Linked DNA regions of Homo sapiens: all the other regions are linked to region 3. Evidence: promoter capture Hi-C in 16 types of primary human blood cells and fetal thymus (Javierre and others, 2016). All regions are on one chromosome and are shown on one strand. The core of a region is centred on a gene start or on the middle of the fragment in contact, and the rest is flanking DNA. Distances in the headings are between cores, read along the strand shown.

Region 1 (2,700 bases), core at 178-2,677, 550 kb before region 3:
TTCTGGCACTGTGCACATGTCATTGAGTGTACCTACAGAAACTTAAATGGTATAGACTACTACATATGTAGGCTATGTGGTATACCCTATTGCTCTTAGGCTACAAATCTGTACAGCATGTTATTGTATTGAATACAGTAAGCAATTTTAATGCAATGGTAAGTTTTTGTATATGTAAACATATATAAATGTAGAAAATGTCCAGTAAAAATATACCATTACAATATTATGTGACCACTGTTGTATATATGGTCCAACACTGACTGAAAATTCATTATGTGACACATGGCTGTAATTACCATTTCCAGTGCTCTTAATTTCTTTATGTAGAGCCAGATTTCTCTCTGGTATCTTTTCCTGGCATCATTTTAAACAGAAATGTTAAGTCTTTTACACCTTAAAGAACTTAACATTTCTGATTTACATTCACACCAACAGTGTGTAAGTGTTCCCTTTTCTCCACATCCTTGCTAACATCTGTTGTTTTTGACTTTGTAGTAATAGCCATTTTAACTGGTATAATATGATTATTTATTATGATTTTAAGTTACATTTCTCTGATGATTAGTGATATTGAGCATTTTTCATTGTTTGTTGACCACTTGTATATACGTCTGTTCATGTTTCTTGCCCACTTTTTTTTTTTTTTTGAGACAGGGTCTCACTCGGCCACACAGGCTGGAGTGCAGTAGCATGAACATGCCTCACTGCAGCCTCAACCTCCTGAGCTCAAGTGATCGCCCCACCTCAGTCTCCCAAGTAGCTGGGACCACAGACAGGCATCAACATGCCTGGCTAATTTTTAAATTTTTTGTAGAGACCAGGTCTCACCATGTTGCCTAAGCTGGTCTCGAATTCCTGGGCTCAAGCAATCCTCCTGGCCTTGGCATTCCAAAGTGCTAAGATTACAGGCATGAGCCACAGCATCTGGCTTTGCCCACTTTTTAATGGGGTTGTCTTTTTCTTCTTGAGTTGAGTTCCTTGTAGATTCTAGATATTAGCCCTTTGTTAGATGTATAGCTTGCAACTATTTTTTCCCATTCTATAGGCTGTTTACTGTTGACTGTTTATTTTGCTGGGCAGGAGCTTGCAATATAGGCATGTAAATGTGCATTTTTACTCCCTCAATCTACACAAATAAAAAGAATTTAACATTTCTGCAATGTTAAATCCTTTACAACTTTAAGGATTTAACATTTTTGGTAGTGCAAGTGTACTGGTGATCAAGTCTTTCAGCTTTTGTATGTCTGAAAAAGTCTTTTTTTTTTTAACAATATTTTTTTGCCAGGTACAGAATTCTAGGTTGACAACTTTTTTTCCTTTCAGTACTTTAAAGCAAGATATCTTTCGCCGGGGGTGGTGGCTCATGCCTATAATCCCAGCACTTTGGGAGGCTGAGATGGGTGGATCACCTGGGGTCAGGAGTTCGAGACCAGCCTGGTAAACATGGTGAAACCCCATCTCTACCAAAAGTACAAAAATTAGCTGAGCATGATGGCAGGCGCCTGTAATCCTAGCTACCTGGGAGGCTGAGGCAGGAGAATCACTTGAACCCGGGAGGCGGCAGTTGCAGAGATTGCGCCACTGCACTCCAGCCTGGGTGACAACAGCGAAACTCTGTCTCAAAAAAAAAAAAAAAAAGGTATCTTCTTGCTTGCACTGTTCCTACTGAGCAATGTAATCTTTGTCTTTACGTAACATTTAAAAATTTTTTTACACACCAACATGGCACATGTATACATATGTAACAAACATGCACCTTGTGCACATGTACCCTAGAACTTAAAGTATAATAAAAAGTATATATATAAAAATTTTTTTTTGTTTTTAAGATTTTCACTGTATCACTGGTTTGACAATTTTGATTATGATATTCCTTGGCACAGTTTTTTCCATGTACCTTAACTGGTTTGGGTATGGGCTTATCATTTTTAGTTTGGAAAGTTTTCAGCCATTATTTTTCTCTACATCTCCTTCAGGGATTCCAAGTTTTCATTTACTGGGCCACTTACAGTCCCACAGCTCAGTAATGGTCTTTTCAAATATTTTTCTCTTTTTTCCCCTCTCTGTGACTCATTTTGTACAGTATCTACTAGTATGGCTTCACCTATATTAATCTTCCATCCAGCAAAGTCTAATCTGCTATTATTTTGATCAAGTATATTTTTCACACCATACTTTGAAGTTTTTATCTCTAGGAGTTTGATTCAGGTATTTTTTTTTACATTTTTCATCTTTCTACTTGACTTTTTGAACATATAAAATACAGTTATAATGACTGTTTTAATGCCCTTCTCTGCCAATTTTAACATCTATGTAATTTCTGGGTTGGTTTGACTGAATATCCTCCTCATTATGGGTCCTGTTTTCCTACTTCCATGCATGCCTTTAATATTTGATTAGCTGCTAGACATTGTGACTTTTACCTTGTTGGGTGCTGGATATTTTGATATTTCTTAAAATTTTGAGTCTTTTTTTGGGATGCTGTTAAATTACATGAAAACATTTTAATCTTTTTTTGACTCTTGATTTTATAATTTGTTTGGCAGAATGGAGCCGTCTAGGCTAATCATAATCTACTATTAAGGGAAGGTCTTCCTGAGTACTCTTCACAATACCCTGTGAATTATGAGTTTCTCCAGCATATTTGATGGGAACAGATACTATTCCTGGACCTATGTGAGTTCCAGACACACTTCC
Region 2 (2,700 bases), core at 46-2,545, 530 kb before region 3:
TTGAAAGAGAGAGTATATGAGCAAATTTGGGAACTCTTGTGGGACTAAACATTAATGCTCTGAATCCATGTATAAGGGTACCCTTAAATTTAAGATGACAGGTAACTAAGGATGATAGCAGGTGGAATCCATAAGTAATACCTACTCTATCTGAATTCACCACAGAGGCAATACCAAGAGCACCTCAGATGCTTTGGGTAGAAAAATATACACTGTGACTCAAAAAGTACTCAATATTTCCCAAATTTATCTAACCACAGAAATGCTTTTAAAAAAAAAACAGCTTGTAAGATAGGCAATAAACTTTGAGTAATAATAGATGGATAATACTTGCTTCTCATTAGTACTACCTATTTAATGCATCTATTTGTTTACCTAGATTTGTAAATTTTCAAGGACAGAAAATGTGCCATATGCATTTTTCCTTCTATCATTTTTTAAGTGCCAGATAATATGCTAAAAACTTTGTATTATCTCAAATTTTACATTATCTTGATCATACAAGTGTATAAACTATTATTCTCATTTTATAGATTGGAAGTTTGAGGCTGAGAGAGGTGGGGGATTGTCCAAGTTCACTCAACCAGTAAGCTGCTCAAGTGAGATACAAACTCGAATCTGTTAAATGCCTAGTACATATATCATATACTAGGCATTTGATATATATTTAAAAATTAATTCTTTTCTTTGCTACCAACAATATTCATGCCCAATAATATTTAAAATCCATCTTTAATTCTTCCCTGAAGAAAACGTTCATCAATTAATAGGATACCCACTAAGAGACACAGTTAGCTAGAGTGATTTCAATGTCTTCAACTCTGTGACTACATAGTATTTTGAACCCCAGAGCTATTTTTAAATGTTTTTATAACTGAGAAATGCATCTGCAGTTATTAAAAGAATAGTTTCAGTTTTCTTTAAAGAATTAACTTCTGTAAAATGCCAGTTTCATTTTAGCAAACTAAAGCTTGGCTTTAAGTTAGGCTGCATGAAAAAGTCACCTCTGAAACAGATCTTCTTTACCATAAATTACCTAGAAGCTAAGTTATTTTTTCTTGTTCTGTGACCTTGGAGGATCTGGATTGGTTAAGTCATTGCAGAAAGTGGGCTATGTCTTCAGTATTTCCTTTTCAGTCTACTTGAAATAAATGCCGAACTATATCATAATTCAATGAAGATATCCATCCATGCCATATTTATTCAGGAAAATCAGGTTAACAGACTTAAACTCTTATACGCATACATGTTATTGTTATAATTATACACACGAAATTATGATAACTGTTGGTTTAGAGGGTTTAATAATATAACTATCATTGGCTCCCTTTGTAGGCTTGGCCCCTCCCCAAATATCTTATTAAGTGGATAGGATTGCATATTTGACACATCAGATTCCTGTCTTACATCCTTTGCTTTGAAAGTGCATCTGGTTACTGGAGTGTTGGTACCCAGAAACGTATGGAAAAAAAATGAAAAGATAACAAGAAACATACTAGGAAATTAAAAAAAAATCACCTAAATTTCAATTCAACTGTACTCTAGTAAGATTCTATGATCATCAATCCCCTCACCAAATTTTTTTACCTGAAACTCCTCTGCAAAGCAATCACAGCAGATGGAAGCTTCTTTAATCTCTTTCTTGTCTGAAAACCCTTCCAATAGGCTTGAATCAAGCATGCTGCTTGATGTAGTTTCTGAAATGCCGAAAATAATTTAGAGATATCTCTAGGAAGGTCTTTAAAAAAAAAAAAAAGTTTACCTCTTAAAGTATCAGGTTAGGGCAAATATTAATCTCTAGCTCTAACAAGATGGGTAAGAATATTAAACCTTACCTCCCAAAGGAGGTATGTTAGGCTTGGTAAGGCAATTTCTAGAACATACTCAAGATATAGTCTAGTTAGCTCCAAATTCTCCCAGAATAATCTCACTTCCATTTCCTTTTCAAAGATTTCATAGTCCGCCTGACCTTTCATAATCTTTTTTGAGCTAACATGTTAATGTTTTTACTTAATAGGCAATCAACCTAGTTAGGTTCAAACTATAAGCTCTGTTGACCATTGTGGATGGTTGCTCGAATCTCTGTTTAGTTCTGTAAGCTTTTGATATGCTATTCTCCTGATAGACCATTGGGCTTAAAAGGTCAGTGAGCTGTCTGAGTTCTTGACTGAATTCTGTCCCAGTCTCCTGTTTACTTAATAGACTTCTGAGTCCTCAAATGGAATGGCAAAGGGTACAACTATTAATAATAAAATATAGTTTTATGATTTTGTTACCTAATCAATATGAATTTGAGCATATGCATAGTTTTGAGATTAATCTAAACTCACGATGGTTCATATATACAGAAAAAAGGAATTCCCTTCTTCTGCACTCTTCCTTCCAGCCTCCCCCAACCCATTCTCCTGCCTTACTGGACTTATTTTCATGGTTTCTGCTTGTATTTTTAAATTTATTGTCTTTTTGGTTTTGGATTTTGGATATACAATGTCCCCTTTTCCTTTTAAATTAAAAAATATCTTTAGTCATTTTAGATGTTTTCCATATTTAAGTCTTTATCTGGAAATCAGAAAGCAATATGCCTCTTCCTGTTGAATGGGCTATTTAGAGCCATCATTTTGAGTATGCTAGAGGAAGTATGATGAAATAATCAATAACTTGCTGCCTCAAATTTCTAAATAATTTTATTAATACCATTTC
Region 3 (2,700 bases), core at 4-2,503:
CTCTGGAGAGTAGAAGGGTGTCTGAGGAATTAAGTGAGTGAATAATTCCTTATATTGTAAAGCCTGGTTCCTTCCAAACATTTTTATCCTGTGTATGTATTATATATTCCCAAAATTGAATAAAATAATATACATAAATATTCACACAATGTGGCCATTTTGCTTCTAGATAAGTTGTCTGCAGAAGCCCTCACTCATGTAAAAAGGAGAAAAAATGCAACGTTGTTTGTAAGAATGAAACACCAGAAACAACGAAAATCGTCATCAATAGAGAAATGAGTATGTAAAATATGAACTAGAATATAGCAATTAGATAGGTAGACTAAATAGATAGGTCTAGCATAAAATAGCATATCACAGTTAAAGGAAATGAACAGGATTGATCTATCTGTGGATTGATCTATGTGTATATCAACATAGAAAGGCTCAAAAACATGTTGAATAGAAAAAGGAACATAACATAGAATATATTTAGCATACAATTTAAGTGAAATTTTAAAGACACACCAAGTAAGACATATTTTAATTTTAAAGACACACATATAAAAATGGCCTGGAAGGATATTAATTCACCATGTACTTTGCCTTCTGGAAGGCAAGGTTGCGTGGGGTGTGGGGCTTCCTCCATATCTGTAATATTTTATTTCCTAAAAATAACTACAAAAATAAAAAACAGCAAGCAAATATGACAAAAGGGTTAAAAGTTTTAATTCTGAGTGATAGAAATATAGATGTTTGTTATTTTATTCTTTGTGTTTTACCGTATGTTAAACATTTCCAGATATTTAAATAAGAGTAAAGAAGACACATCCAGCCAAGGTCCTCCAGATAGATCCTTTTGCTTTCTTTCTAAAGTCAAGTAAATTCTAAACTAACCTTGACATTATTAGTAAGTTTTGCTTTAAAAAAAATAAAATTTTGTGTTAGAAGTTTTAAAACATTTGGAAATTCTAGTTGCGGCTTCAGATTTCATAATTCAGATGATGCAACAGGATGGAACCATTGTCAAAGAGAATGCAGGGACGTTTGATGCTTGTTAGGACATGACTCCTGTACTTGCCCATTTGTTCATCCTCCAACCCCTCTTTCTTCCAAATTCCATGTAGCATATTCTCTCCAGGAAGCAAGAAGACTTGCCTGGCGGCATACTCATTTTCCCCATGCCTCTTTGCTGTTTGTGGAAAATAAAGCATTCTATAGGCGGAGCTAGTGAACGCCTCTTTTAAAACACGAGTCTCCACACTTCCCTGTTCACTTTGGTTCCAGCATCCTGTCCAGCAAAGAAGCAATCAGCCAAAATGATACCTGGAGGCTTATCTGAGGCCAAACCCGCCACTCCAGAAATCCAGGAGATTGTTGATAAGGTGAGTTGATGCCATTCAGGAAAAAGTCTGAGCCAAAATCTTGATTCATAAGTTGTCCCTGTGGAAAGGCTGTGGTTGAACATGAAAACCAGAAGTTTAGGATGTTTGTGGCTTTGTTCAGGTTTCTTTACAACTAAGATGAAATAAGAGTTTTTCAGATGAAGCCTCAAATAATCCCCAAACTGTGAGTGTGACCTTGAGCAAATCACATTTCTTCTCTGAGCTTCATTTTCTCCATGGGTAAAAGAATTTGTATTGTATCTTCTCTAAAGCTCTTACAAGATATGATTCTAGAATTACTAATTCAGTTTCTGATGAAACTTTTCTAATCTCACCAAGTGAAGCCAACGTGTAATTGAAGTCTAAGGTTATTAACAATTTGATGAAGTAGTCTTGGAATGCACTGCAGGGAAAATTTTTTTAAATAGATTGAATGAAGAATAATATTGTAAAGGCAATCTACTTACAAACTTCATACACTTTTGCCCAAATAGATAGTGTTTTAGTCTTTTCATAGTTAAAAGGTAATTCAACTAATAGAACAGAGGTGACAGTCTATAGTGACTCCGAAATGTCATAGGGCACCAAATTATATATGGAAAAATAGAACTCAATGTTGTTAGCAGATTGATGTGTTTTTCACTTCTTCTTTTTTGTTTTGTTTTGTTTCATTTTTAAGAGATGGGGTCTCACTCTGTCACCCAGGCTGGAGTGCAATGGTCTGATCACGGCTCACTGTAGCCTCAACTTTTTGAGTTCAAGCGATCCTCCCCACTCAGCCTCCTGAGTAGCTGGGATTACAGACATATGCCACCACGCCTGGCTGATTTGGGGGGTTTTGTTTTGTTTTGTTTTTAGAGATGGCATTTCATTCTGTTGCTAGACTGGTCTTGAATTCCTGGGCTCAAGCCATCCACTCACCTAGGCTTCCCAAAGTATTGGGATTACAGGCGTGAGCCACCACACCCATCCCTGATATATTTTTCTTTGTGTGATTAGCTATCATCTAGCTATGTAGTAAACATTTATTTGCATATTTTATGAAAGGAAAACATGTACAAATTACTACTTTAGGTTTTTAGTTTGTTGCCTTATTTTCTTATATTATTCCTTCTTATTTTTTCTCTCTGAAACATCATTCTATGACAGCTTGGAAAACAAGATCAGCTTTTTGTGTGATTATAAGAGTTGGGATCCTGTATATTCTGGGAACTAGAAAGCTCTCTAAGGGGCCAGATGCCTAGAATCCCATCACTCATTCTTGGGGACTAATTATTTCTCTTTCAAGAGTTCTTTTTTTAAATAAATATCTTGGAGCTTTTTTCCTGGGAGATGA
Region 4 (2,700 bases), core at 41-2,540, 510 kb before region 3:
AATCCCAAAAGATAGTGTTGTACTCTTAGACTTCCTACTTTCCTTAAAATGCACATTAGATAATGTCACCCACAAATTCATGGTTCTTGAGGCAGGTTAACAAAATTTACCTTTAAATCGAAATTCTCACATATACTCACACAAAACCACTTTGTATTTTAGGTCAGAACGTGTATGTCCCACCATATGATCTACTAACTATGTACTATCTAATTAAAACAAAAATCTGATTGAAAAGCTCCTAGGTAAATAGACTAATAAATTAATTCAAGTTTTTGCCACATCTTTTTTATGCCCCTGTTTTAATTTTGCCCTGTGGTTAAGTGGCCTTACTTTTTCTGTAGCCAATTAATTCTTGGATAACATTAAAGAATCTTTATCTCAATAAAAATACAATAATAAAGGACAGAAAAATATTATGAAAAGTATTAAGGATTCTATAAATGAAAATAATTAACTGAATAAGTATATTTATAATGAAAGTAATATACAAATACATAACATATTAATACATAATTTTAATAATATATAAGGAAAAAGAATTATTAATGCTCTTAAATAGGAATATTAAATAAAGGTGCTTTGAAGAAAAGATAAAGCTTACATAATGGTCTGAGCTATTAATGGGACAGAAATTATTTTACAAATGAGGAAAATGAGATACAGTGAAATCCAGTGATTTGCTATAGAACCTAGAGTTAGTTTGTGGCACAGCCAGCAAAAGAAATCAAATCCAACACAATTCCTATAGTTTATGTGGCTTCAACTAACCTGAATTAAACTAAATCTAGCAAATATTTATTTAGTGCTAACATCCCACAAAATGCCAGTGGAGATATCAGAAATGGAATTTGTAACCTGTTACATGGAACACATATGCTCTACCACTGAGTTAAATTCTCTGCCAGGGGGATCTGGCAAGATGGTTGAAGAGGAACAGCTCTGGTCTGAAGCTCTCAGCAATAGCAATGCAGAAGGCAGTGATTCTGCATTTCCAACTGAGGTACCCAGTTCATCTCATTGGGACTGGTTAGACAATGGGCGCAGCCCACAGATGGCAAGCAGAAGCAGAGTGGGGCATTGCCTCACCTGGGAAGTGCAAGGGGCTGGGGACCTCCCTCCCCTAGCCAAGGGAAGGGAGGGACTGTGCTATCTGGCCCAGATACTACGTTTTTCCCATGGTTTTTGCAACCCACAGACCAGGAGATTCCCTGTGTGCCTAAACCACCAGGGCCCTGGGTTTCAAGCACAAAACTGGTCAGCTGTTTGGGCAGACACTGAGCTAGCTGCACGAGTTTCTTTTTGTACCTCAGTGGTGGCTAAAACCCCAGCAAGACAGACTGTTCACTCCCCTGGAAAGGGGTCTGAAACCAAGGAGCCAAGAGGTCTTGTTCAGCGGGTCCCACTCCCACGGAGACCAGCAAGCTAAGAACCATTGCCTTGAAATTCTCGCTCCCAGCACAACAGTCTGAAGTCGACCAACCTGGGACAACTGAGCTTGGTGGTGGGAAGGGCATCCACCATTACTGAGGCTTGAGTCGGCAGTTTTCCCCTCACAGTGTTAAGGAAGCCACTGGGAAGTTTGGACTGGGTGGAACTCACTGCAGCACAGCAAGGCAGCTGTGGCCAGACTGCCTCTCTAGATTCCTCCTCACTGGGCAAGTCATCTCTGAAACAAAGGCAGCAGCCCCAGTAAGAGGCTTATACATAAAACTCCCATCTCCCTGGGACAGCGCACCTGGGGACAGGGGAGACTGTGGGTGCAGTTTCAGCAGACTTAAATGTTCCTGCCTGCCAGCGCTGAAGAGAGCGGCGCATCTCCCAGCACAGTTGATATACTGAATTTGAATTTGTTAGTGCTAGAGCTCTGCTAAGGAACAGAATGCCTCCTCAAGTGGGTCCCTGACCCTGTGCCTCCAGACTGGGAGACACCTCCAAACAGGAGAGCTCTGGCAGGAATCAGGCAGGTGCCACTCTGAGACGAAGCTTCCAGAGGAAGGAGGTGTGAGTAATATTTGCTGTTCTACAGCCTCTGCTGCTGATACCCAGGCAAACAGGGTCTGGAGTGGACCTCCAGCAAACTCCAGCAGACCTGCAGAAGAGGGACCTGTTAGAAGGAAAACTAACAAACAGAAAGCAATAACATCAACATCAACAAAAAGGACACCCACACAAAATCCCCATCCAAAGGTCATCAGCATCGAAGATCAAAGGTAGACAAATCCATGAAGATGAGGAAAAACCAGCACAAAAAGGCTGAACATTCCAAAAACCAGAACGCCTCTTCTCCACCAAATGATCGCGATTCCTCCCCAGCAAGGGCAAAAACTGGACTGAGAATGAGTTTGATAATTAACAAAAGTAGGCTTCGGAAGGTGGGTAATAACAAACTCCTCTGAGCTGAAGGAGCATGTTCTAACCCAGTGTAAGGAAGCTAAGAACATTGAAAAAAGGTTAGACAAATTGCTAACTAGAATAACCAGTTTAGGAGAACATAAATGACCTGATGGAGCTGAAAAACACAGCATGAGAACTTCATGAAGCATACACAAGTATCAATAGCCAAATTGATCTAGCAGAAGGAAGGATATAAGAGAATGAAGATCAACTTAATGAAATAAAGTGTGAAGACAAGATTAGAGAAAGAAGAATGAAAAGAAATGAACAAAGCCTCCAAGGAATATGGAACTATGTGAAAAG
Region 5 (2,700 bases), core at 201-2,700, 700 kb before region 3:
GAGTGCAGTGGTGTCATTACAGCTCACTGCAGCCTTGACCTCTCAGGCTCAAGCGATCCTCCCACGTCAGTGTCACTCTCAAGTAGCTGGGACCATAGGCGTGCACCACCATGCCCCGCTAATTTTTTAACTGTTTTTTTTTTTAGTAGATACAGGGTATCGCTATGTTTCTCAGACTGGTCTTGAACTCCTGGGCTCAAGCAATCAACCTACCTCAGCCTCACAAAGTGCTGAGATTACAGGTGTGAGCCATTGCGCCTGGCCAAATTTTAAACTTATGGATCTTCTGACATTTGGATGCTAACCTCCCCACTCCATCACAGACTAACACTGTGCTGAAATTATGTTACAAATTCTGTAGACCAGATATTGCAAACTGGCAACCTACAGATCCTATCTGGCCAGCATTCACATTTTTCCTTGGCTCAAATAGTGTTGTTTTAAATTAAGTTAGTTGTTAACATTTAAAATTCAGAGTATTTTTATTTCGATATATTATGTAGTAAAATATTTTGCATTGTGATGAAATATAAAATACTACTTTATAATAGCAAACATGTATAGATCACTGCCTGTGAAACAAGCACTGTTCTAAGAGTTTCATGTATATTTAGGTCATTTACTCCTTACAGCAGCATTATGGGATAGGTACTATTATTATCCTCTCTCTACTGATGGGGAAACTGATGAGCGAAGAAGTGAAGTAAATTTCCCAAAGTCTCACAGCCACTGACTTGTAGCTCCAGGGTGGAAACCTGTGCAGTCTGCCTTCTAACCACTAAACCATATCACAGCTCACAAAAGTCCGCATCCCCACTGTCTCTGGAAAAACCAGGTCTGGCAACACATTCCCACATGGCATCAATTAACCAGGGCTGAGAAATTTCATTTCCCTGAAGACAGGGCATTTTCTCTTTCACTTGCCAGAGTCTCCATTCAGTCAACTTCTGGGACCTTTGGGGTTTTGACCCCTGCTCTAGCACAGCTGAATATACCAGGGGAAATGGCATGTTACAGATATTTCACAGACACCTATACACTGCCCCAGACAAAGTTAGATCTCAGACTAACCTCTAAGTGGACAGGAAGCCCCAGTGGAAGAGAAGATTAGAAGGTAACCTAGGCCAGATTGTGGGTAGCAGAGTGTTTAGGATGCCAGGATAATTGTCAGCAGACAATGGAGAAAGTTATAGGAAGCAGAAGTTAACATCCCATGATTGGTAATATGCCCTATCAGAGGGCAGCGGGGGTCAGTGAAAATAACATGGGCCAGCATGGCCTGGATTACAAAGCTGATTCCATCACTTAGCAGCTGTGTGACCTTGGACAAGTTACTTACCTTCAAGCTTCTGTTTCCTTGACTCAAACATGGAGATAAAGACACCTCCAGGATGGTGGAAGGAATTAAATGAGATAGTGTGTGAAGTCTCTTTAGCCTCTATTAATATAGGTAACCTAACTGTTTTTCTTACTAATTATTTATATTCATATTTTCCCGTAGAGCTAAGAAGCAAGAAGAAATTGGGGCGCCATGGTAAGCACCAGGAGCTTATTGAAGCTTCACCATTGAGAGGTCCAGGTCTTCCTTCATTTATCCTGTAGCCCAAGCAGCTAGCAGACTTGCTCTTATGGTTTGATGATATTTATCAACTTTTTTCCAAACTAGAGATGCTGAACAGAACTTGGAAGAAATTGACACAGAGTAAGGGGAAAACAGTTGAGAAGGATTTTTGAGCAAAGAGTTTAAGTGAAAATTTAAATAAAATAGTCAAAAAGCCAGCAATAATCTAAATGGCTAGCAATTCCTTCATTCAGCAAGCATTGAATACCCACAAAGGTCCAGGTCCCATGCTAGATGCTAGGGACATAAATGCGAGCAAAACCAGACATGGCTGCTGTCCTCCCAGCCCGCACTCTGGTGGTAGTTGATTAAATGATAGCACACCCATATTCCGGAATGTTACACTGCCATTATGAAGAAAGTTTGTAAAGAATAACTAATAAAACAATCTAGTTTCATGTTCTAATAGCAAGATAAAAAGCAGGATGAAAAGTTGTATTCATAGTATTATCCGTATGATATAAATAACCTGTAATCCACAACTCAAAAATAACAATTGTCAACAGTGTAGTCCATTATATTCAATTCTTTTTTTCCTATTCTAAACACATCTACTACATATATATAATAAACTATTGGAAAATTCTAAAAAGTACTTATAGTTGTTATTTCTGGATTGTGGGATTGTGATATTCCATATATTTCAAGGTTTCTACAAAAAGCAGGTATAAACAGGAAATATGTCAATTAAAACACAGTCATAGACATGCATAGAGCTTCTCCTCAGTATTCATTTGTTTTCTTCCCCCTGTCCTTGGTGTGTCCAGGGGAAAGCCCGCAGATCCCCGCCAGGGCACCACAGGCATTGTGAGGGATGCTTCAACCGCCACTGCCACATTCCTGTGGAACCCAACACCTCCTGCCTGGTAATAAGCTGCCACCTGCTCTGTGGTGCCACCTTCCACATGTGCAAAGAGGCAGAGCACCAGCTCCTCTGCCCTTTAGAGCAGGTTCCGTGCCTCAACTCCGAATATGGCTGCCCTCTGTCCATGTCCCGCCACAAACTGGCCAAGCACCTGCAGGTGTGCCCCGCCAGCGTGGTCTGCTGCTCCATGGAGTGGAACCGCTGGCCAAATGTG

The links. Contacts are between HindIII fragments. The CHiCAGO score rates a contact against its expected background, and 5 or more counts as called.
Region 1: a contact is called between a fragment that was not itself captured here and the fragment with the promoter of CSTA in region 3, in 1 of 17 cell types (monocytes). The highest score is 5.0, in monocytes.
Region 2: a contact is called between a fragment that was not itself captured here and the fragment with the promoter of CSTA in region 3, in 1 of 17 cell types (monocytes). The highest score is 5.5, in monocytes.
Region 4: a contact is called between a fragment that was not itself captured here and the fragment with the promoter of CSTA in region 3, in 1 of 17 cell types (monocytes). The highest score is 5.4, in monocytes.
Region 5: a contact is called between a fragment that was not itself captured here and the fragment with the promoter of CSTA in region 3, in 2 of 17 cell types (total B cells and erythroblasts). The highest score is 5.7, in total B cells.

Annotation. Positions count from the first base shown.
Region 1 is chr3:121,777,276-121,779,975 of GRCh38, forward strand. The region is part of intron 13 of IQCB1 (IQ motif containing B1); the gene reads right to left. Among named protein-coding and RNA genes, the nearest start is that of GOLGB1, 29 kb to the left of the region's middle. The HindIII fragment of the contact is 3,795 bases long and covers 1-2,700 here.
Region 2 is chr3:121,793,870-121,796,569 of GRCh38, forward strand. IQCB1 (IQ motif containing B1) reads right to left here. Exons shown (of 15, transcript NM_001023570.4): 10 at 1,588-1,697. Among named protein-coding and RNA genes, the nearest start is that of IQCB1, 40 kb to the right of the region's middle. RefSeq lists an enhancer at 1,088-1,137. The HindIII fragment of the contact is 655 bases long and covers 969-1,623 here.
Region 3 is chr3:122,323,995-122,326,694 of GRCh38, forward strand. It overlaps CSTA (cystatin A), which reads left to right and starts at 1,254. Exons shown (of 3, transcript NM_005213.4): 1 at 1,254-1,364. The coding sequence starts at 1,299. The HindIII fragment of the contact is 6,914 bases long and covers 1-2,700 here.
Region 4 is chr3:121,810,078-121,812,777 of GRCh38, forward strand. The region is part of intron 5 of IQCB1 (IQ motif containing B1); the gene reads right to left. Among named protein-coding and RNA genes, the nearest start is that of IQCB1, 24 kb to the right of the region's middle. The HindIII fragment of the contact is 1,387 bases long and covers 598-1,984 here.
Region 5 is chr3:121,619,045-121,621,744 of GRCh38, forward strand. It overlaps FBXO40 (F-box protein 40), which reads left to right. Exons shown (of 4, transcript NM_016298.4): 2 at 1,502-1,534; 3 at 2,389-2,700. The coding sequence starts at 1,532. Among named protein-coding and RNA genes, the nearest start is that of FBXO40, 27 kb to the left of the region's middle. The HindIII fragment of the contact is 212 bases long and covers 1,345-1,556 here.